Regions from separate parts of the Homo sapiens genome. Here region 1 is linked to region 2. The links are contacts of gene promoters, found by promoter capture Hi-C in blood cells and fetal thymus (Javierre and others, 2016). All regions are on one chromosome and are shown on one strand. Each heading gives the region's core, a stretch centred on a gene start or on the middle of the fragment in contact. The rest is flanking DNA. Distances are from core to core; before and after follow the strand shown. Region 1 holds the start of ZNF394 (zinc finger protein 394). Region 2 holds the start of ARPC1A (actin related protein 2/3 complex subunit 1A).

Region 1 (3,076 bases), core at 370-2,869, 170 kb after region 2:
CCAGCCCTTCACAAACCACACACCGCAATAAACCAGCAGAGCAACAGCACTCACTCGGCGGAACTGTGCTCCCGGAATCCTTCTGCGCACTCTCTCTGCAGAAGTCCCTCCGTGCTGGGTCCAGGCGCTCCCACTCCTCCCAGGTTAGAGACACAGCCGTGTCCTCGAAAGTCACCATCCCCTGGAACAACACAAGAGCCCCATTCAGTACCTGCTGTCCCTGTACAGCACTAACACTCTTCTTGAGTCTTGTACCGACAAGGGAGTTTGGAGAGATCAGAGATAGAGGCTGACATTCTCTTGTAATCCTGAAAAGCCTTTCTGTGGACTATTTACACTAATTTTGGAGGTAGGTAGGAGCAAAATATTTCTTTAACTTATATCACTGTGATGTATGGGAATGGAAATATGATACAGATTAAAAGTAAACAAGGCCGGGCGCGGTGGCTCACGCCTGTAATCCCAGCATTTTGGGAGGCCGAGGCGGGCGGATCACCTGAGGTCAGGAGTTCGAGACCAGCCTGGCCAACACAGTGAAACCCCGTCTCTACTAAAAATACAAAAATTAGCCGGGCGTGGTGGCGGGCGCCTGTAATCCCAGCTACTCGGGAGACTGAGGCAGGAGAATCGCTTGAACCCGGGAGTCAGAGGTTGCAGCGAGCCGAGATCGCGCCATTGCACTCCAGCCTGGGCAACAAGAGTGAAACTCCATCTCAAACAACAGCAAGAACAACAAGAAAAAAAAAAAAAAGAAAAGAAAAAGAAAGAAAACCAGTAATCCGTGTTCGCTTTATGCTGAGGTCTATAACAAGTCATTTCCTGGATGGATCTGTCACTGTGGCCTACAGAAAGGAAGTCCATACACACCCCAATGTTCACACGAAATGTAATAAGGAAGTAAGTTCCGAAACGCAGAGCACCCCTAAACGCCTATTTTCCACACTCCCACCTCCAGAACAGGCCTTTCGCTTCTCACCTGGGATGAGGTTCCATCGAGCGCTCGCTGCAGAGCCCGCACCACGGCCACCGCCTCCTCCCCGCTCTCTGGGCAGTGCTCTCGCACCCAGGCTTGAAGCTCCTCGGGCAGGATGGTGAGGAACTGCTCCAGCACCAGCAGCTCCAGGATCTGCTCCTTGGAGAGCAGCTCGGGTCTCAGCCACCGACGACAGAGTTCTCGGAGCCGGCTCAGCGCCTCTTCCGGTCCAGCCACCTCCTGGTAACGCAGCTGCCTAAAGTGCAGTCGAGAAGTTTCGGGGTCCGGCGAAGCCGCGGGATAGTTGGGCTCCCAACTTCCGGGTGAGTCTTCCTCCACTTTCACGGGCAAAAGTCCGTCGCGTTGGGACGGCGCCGCGTCCTTGGACCTCGCAGCCATCACCCAGGGTCCCAACTCGGCGTCACTGCCGCGCCTCTGGGCGGTCAAGCTGGAATTCATCTTTCTCCGGCATGTGCTGCCCTTCCTGGAGTCTTCTTTTCAGGTGAAGAAAGAGCAAACCCAAGGAACTCATCAGCCGTCAACACCCTCCGGTCCCAAACACCGGGCCCCACCACACCAGGCCCCTCTCCACACTCTCCTTTCCTCAGCTTTGCGCCTACAACTCTCTCGGTCAAACAACCGAAAACATCCCGTGCCGGAAGCGCGTCATCGAGGCCTTGCGGCACCTTTCCCTGCATTTCCGGGGCCTCTCTAGGCGCCTGATGGGGTGAGGTGCATCTCGCTGGTTTATCGTCCTAGCCCCGCCCGACGCAGAGGGTCTTGACGGTTTCCCGCATCCCGAGGAAATACGGGCGTCCGAGCCGGTGGCCGAGCTCCGGCAAGGGCGGGAACCTTCAGGATTAAATAGACAGGGTCTGGCTCTGTCGCCCAGGCTGGACTGCAGTGGCGCGATTTCGGCTCACTGCAACTTCTGTCTCCCGGGTTCAAGCAATTCTCCAGCTTCAGCCTCCCAAGTATCTAGGACTACAGGTGCGCGCGACCACGCCCGGTTTATTAATTTTTCTGTGGGGATGGGGTTTCATTATATTGCCCAGGTTGGACAAAGTTGTTTTTTTTTCTTTTTTCAGGCGGACTCTCGCTCTGTCGCCAGGCTGTCTTAGCCTCCTGAGTAGCTTGGACTACAGGCGCGCGCCACCATGCCCGGCTACTTTCTGTATTTTAGTAGAGATGGGGTTTCACCATGTTGGTCAGGCTGGTCTGGAACTCCTGACCTCGTGATCCGCCTGCCCCGGCCTCCCAAAGTGCTGGATTACAGGCGTGAGCCGCTGCGCCCAGTTGGAAAAAGTTTTGTTTTTTTTTTAAAACTAAGTGCTTCCATGTACATCAGATGTTAACGACTTTGATCCTAACAAACAAACAAAAAAGATGAGGAAATTGAGGCTCAAAGATGTGTCCTGGCCTGGCTCAGTGGCGTATGCCTGTAATCCCAGCATTTTGGGAGGCTGAGGGGGGAAGATCGCTTGAAGCCAAGAATTGGAGACCCCAATGTCTACAAAAAATAAAAAATTAGCTGGGTGTGGTGGTGCACACCTGTAGTCCCAGTGAGAGGTGAAGCTAGTTGGACTTCCTGGGTCCAGTGGGGACTTGGACAACTTTTCTGTCTTACAAGAGGTTTGTAAAAATGCACCAATCAGCGCTCTGTAGCTAGCAAGAGGTTTGTAAAATGCACCAATCAGCGCTCTGTAAAATGGACCAATCAGCAGGATTCTAAAAGCAGCCAATCGCAGGGAGGATGGAAAAAAGGGCGTTCTGATACGACAGAAACGGACATGGGAGGGGACAAATAAGAGACTAAAAGCTCCCACCCCAGTCAGCGGAGGCAACCGGCTGGAGTGCTCTGCCATGCTGTGGAAGGTTTGTTCTTTCGCTCTTCACAATAAATCTTGCTGCTACTCACTCTTTGGGTCCGTGCCATCTTTAAGAGCTGTAACACAGTGAAGGTCGGAGGCTGCATTCTTGAAGTCAGCGAGAGGATGAACCCACTGGAAGGAACCAACTCAGGATACACCACTTACTTGGGAGGCTGAGGTGGGAGGATCCTTTGAGCCCAGGAGGTAAAGACTGCAGTGAGATATGATCGCA
Region 2 (3,079 bases), core at 256-2,755:
GAGGCTGAGGCAGGCGGGATCACCTGAAGTCAGGAGTTCGACACCAGCGTCGCCAACATTGCAAAACCCCGTCTATACTAAAAATACAAAAATTAGCCGGGCATGGTGGCGCGCAGCTGTAGTCCCAGCTACTCGGGAGGCTGAGGCAGGAGAATCGCTTGAACCCGGGAGGCGGAGGTTACAGTGAGCCGAGATCGCGCCACTGCACTCCAGCTTGGGCGACAGAGAAAGGCTCCGTCTCAAAAAGATCACAGCGGGTCTGAAATTGAGAGTTTGACAAGTATACCTACATAAACCTCACCTTACAATACCAAAGGGAAGGAGACAAGCCCTTGGTTGGCCTGGCATGGCGCTGGGCGGCGGCGGGGGGGAGCTCACATCGCTTTGGGAAGCAGAGGCTAGAGGATTGCTTGAGCCCAGGGGTTCAAGACCAGCCTGGACAACATAGGAAAACCTCATCTTTACAAAAAATATAAAAATTAGCCAGGCACAGTGGCTCACACCTGTAATCTGAGGGCTTTGAGAGGCCAAAGAGGGACGATCGCTTGAGCCCAGGAGTTCAAGACCAGCCTAAGCAACACAGCAAGACCCTGTCTCTACCAAAAAATAAAAATTAGCCAGGCGTGGTGGTGTGCACTTGTAGTCCCAGCTCCACGGGGGGCTGAGGCGGGAGGATCGCTTGAGCCCAGGGGTTCCAGGCTGCAGTTAGCTATGATCGCGCCACTGCACTCCAGCCTGGGCTACAGGTTGAGAACCTGTCTAAAAAAAAAGAAAAAAGAAAAGCTCTCGATTAGCCCCATCTGTGGGGGCTGGGGATGCTCCAGAATTTCTAGGGTTCAAGGGCAGCAGCCTGATTGCAGGTGGGGATCAGGGCATTTCTTGGAGGCTGCATCTGCGGGGCAGGCTCTGTCCTCTGTGAATTGGGGGCCTTGCCAAGTTCCCCCAACCCTTTTATCCCTGCTGCGCCATCTTGGGAGCAGGGAACTGCTTGGGAGCAGGGGATTCTGTCCCAGGAAGGGTCGAGAAAGTTCCTGGGGGGCTTCAGGGGCTTTCCACAGAGGGAGCACGGCGGGGGCGGAGGCTCCCTGCAGGGAGCAGCGCTGAGGTAGACTGGCTCTGACCTTGGCTCTCTGAAGGGAGAAAAACTTAATCGTTCTTCAGGTCCAAGAGCTCCAAAGACCCCCAATCCTCAGTAACTCATCTCCTGACAAAAGACCTTGCGAAACTGCCAAAGCGCCACACTTCGGCTCGCGATTGTGAGGAAATTGGTTGAGGAACGGAGTGGGACGCCCATGCCGCTTCGCCAGCACTTGCCAGGCGTTCCGTGGGGCAGCATCTCCTCTGAAGGGCCGCCGACAGTACCACGCCAATGGAACGGCGTACCCTCCTCCACTGCAGCCTGCCTAACCCCGGACTGCGCGCCCGAGCTGTGCGCATGCGCGGACCGTCCGCGCGGTCGCAACGCGCAGGCGCCGTGTCCACTTCCGGGATCTGTCAGCCGCTCCCTCTGGGCTTCCGTCCTCCGCCCGCGCCCGACGGAGCCTGTTCGCGTCGACTGCCCAGAGTCCGCGAATCCTCCGCTCCGAGCCCGTCCGGACTCCCCCGATCCCAGGTAACGGCCAGCAGGGGCGAGCGTCTCACCCTGTCGGCCTCTCTTGTCCAGGCCTGGCGCCGGACTTGCCGCGGGGGCAGTGAGACGGGGGCTCAGGCCGCGGGGCCCCGAGGCTGAGGCGCGGCCGGGTCTCCCTGCCGGGGCCTCCTGAGGGGGCGGGGATCCCCTTTCTCCGTGGATCCCCTGCAGCTTTTCTCAGGATGTTCGAGCTCCTAGCCGCCTCCGATGCCCGAATTAACGGCCCCTTCTGCGCCCCCAGGGTCCTACTTGCACCTCTGCTGGGGGCATTTGTCACCGTCTCTAAAATTGTGTCAAGTAGGAGGATCTCCCGTAATCGAGCGACCCGCGGGACTATTCATCTCTTTAGTGTCTAGAGTCGATCCCTGCATACAGTAGGCGCCCATAGGATGTTTGCCTGCTCTCTAGGGCAGCCCTCAATCCTTCGGTTAATGGGGAACCTTCTCGATCTCGAGAAAAACCTTCTCCCGAGTTCTTTTAAGATTTCCCTGCATGAGTACCGCCTTCCCCCAAGTCAAAATTGCACCCTTCTCGGCGCTCTTATTCATTTAGTGGAATCTTTTATGCCAGTCCTGGCACCACCACTTTGTTGAGTGATCCTGGGAAGATGCTTCTCTGCGCCTGTTTCCTCATCTGCAATAAAAAGATTCTTACCGTTTTGCTAAGAATCAAGTGAGCTTATTTGCATAAATTGCTTAGAATAGTTCCTGGCCGAGAGTAGGTGATCAATAAATATTAGCTATTATTACTGCTTCTGGGCATTCTATGCATATCCGTCTTCCTTTCCTTTTCTATCTCCTCCACTCTCCCCAAACACCAACCCTCCAGACTTGAAGACCAGAATGGTGTCAGCCTTATTTATGTTTCTAGCCCCATCCCGGTATTTACAACACTGCTGGGAACATGATAGGCACTTAATCAGTTATAGCTTAGAATCTTTGATTATAAAGCCATCTGTTCTCCTGCAGCTTTGGAACCTTCTGTCTATGTCAACTCGTAGCTTAAATTGCCGAGATTATCTTAGTTCTGCCCTCTCTCCTCAATTTTATCTAGTCTTGTGGTTTCACATAGGGCCTGGGTTTTCAGGTATCTAAAAACAGAGGAGGGGCATCAGTCAGGAAGGTGTTTTTGTCCTGTTAGGGAGTGGGTAACTGTGGTTGTTGTCTTCCTTTTTTTTTTTTTTCCTGCAGCCTCGACCTCCTGGGCTTAACAGATCCTCCCACCTCAGCCTCCTGAGTAGCTGGGACTACAGGCGTGTGCCACCACACTGGGCTAATTTTCATTTATTTTTATTTACTTATTTTTGGAGATAGAGTCTCACTCTGTCACCCAGACTGGAGTGCAGTGGTGTGATCTTGGCTCACTGCAACCTCCACCTCCTGGGTTCAAGCGATTCTCCTGCCTCAGCCTCCCGAGTAGCTGTGACTACAGGCATGAGCCACTGCGCCT

What was found. Contacts are between HindIII fragments. The CHiCAGO score rates a contact against its expected background, and 5 or more counts as called.
Region 1: a contact is called between the fragment with the promoter of ZNF394 here and the fragment with the promoter of ARPC1A in region 2, in 1 of 17 cell types (neutrophils). The highest score is 5.5, in neutrophils.

What each region holds. Positions count from the first base shown.
Region 1 is chr7:99,498,662-99,501,737 of GRCh38, forward strand. It overlaps ZNF394 (zinc finger protein 394), which reads right to left and starts at 1,620. Exons shown (of 3, transcript NM_032164.4): 1 at 977-1,620; 2 at 55-181. The coding sequence starts at 1,432. RefSeq lists enhancers at 60-728, 951-1,230. The HindIII fragment of the contact is 23,896 bases long and covers 1-3,076 here.
Region 2 is chr7:99,324,393-99,327,471 of GRCh38, forward strand. It overlaps ARPC1A (actin related protein 2/3 complex subunit 1A), which reads left to right and starts at 1,506. Exons shown (of 10, transcript NM_006409.4): 1 at 1,506-1,612. LOC105375421 (a long non-coding RNA gene) reads right to left here and starts at 1,416. Exons shown (of 4, transcript XR_927798.3): 1 at 1,122-1,416. RefSeq lists an enhancer at 1,072-1,631 and a silencer at 1,607-1,786. The HindIII fragment of the contact is 5,893 bases long and covers 1-3,079 here.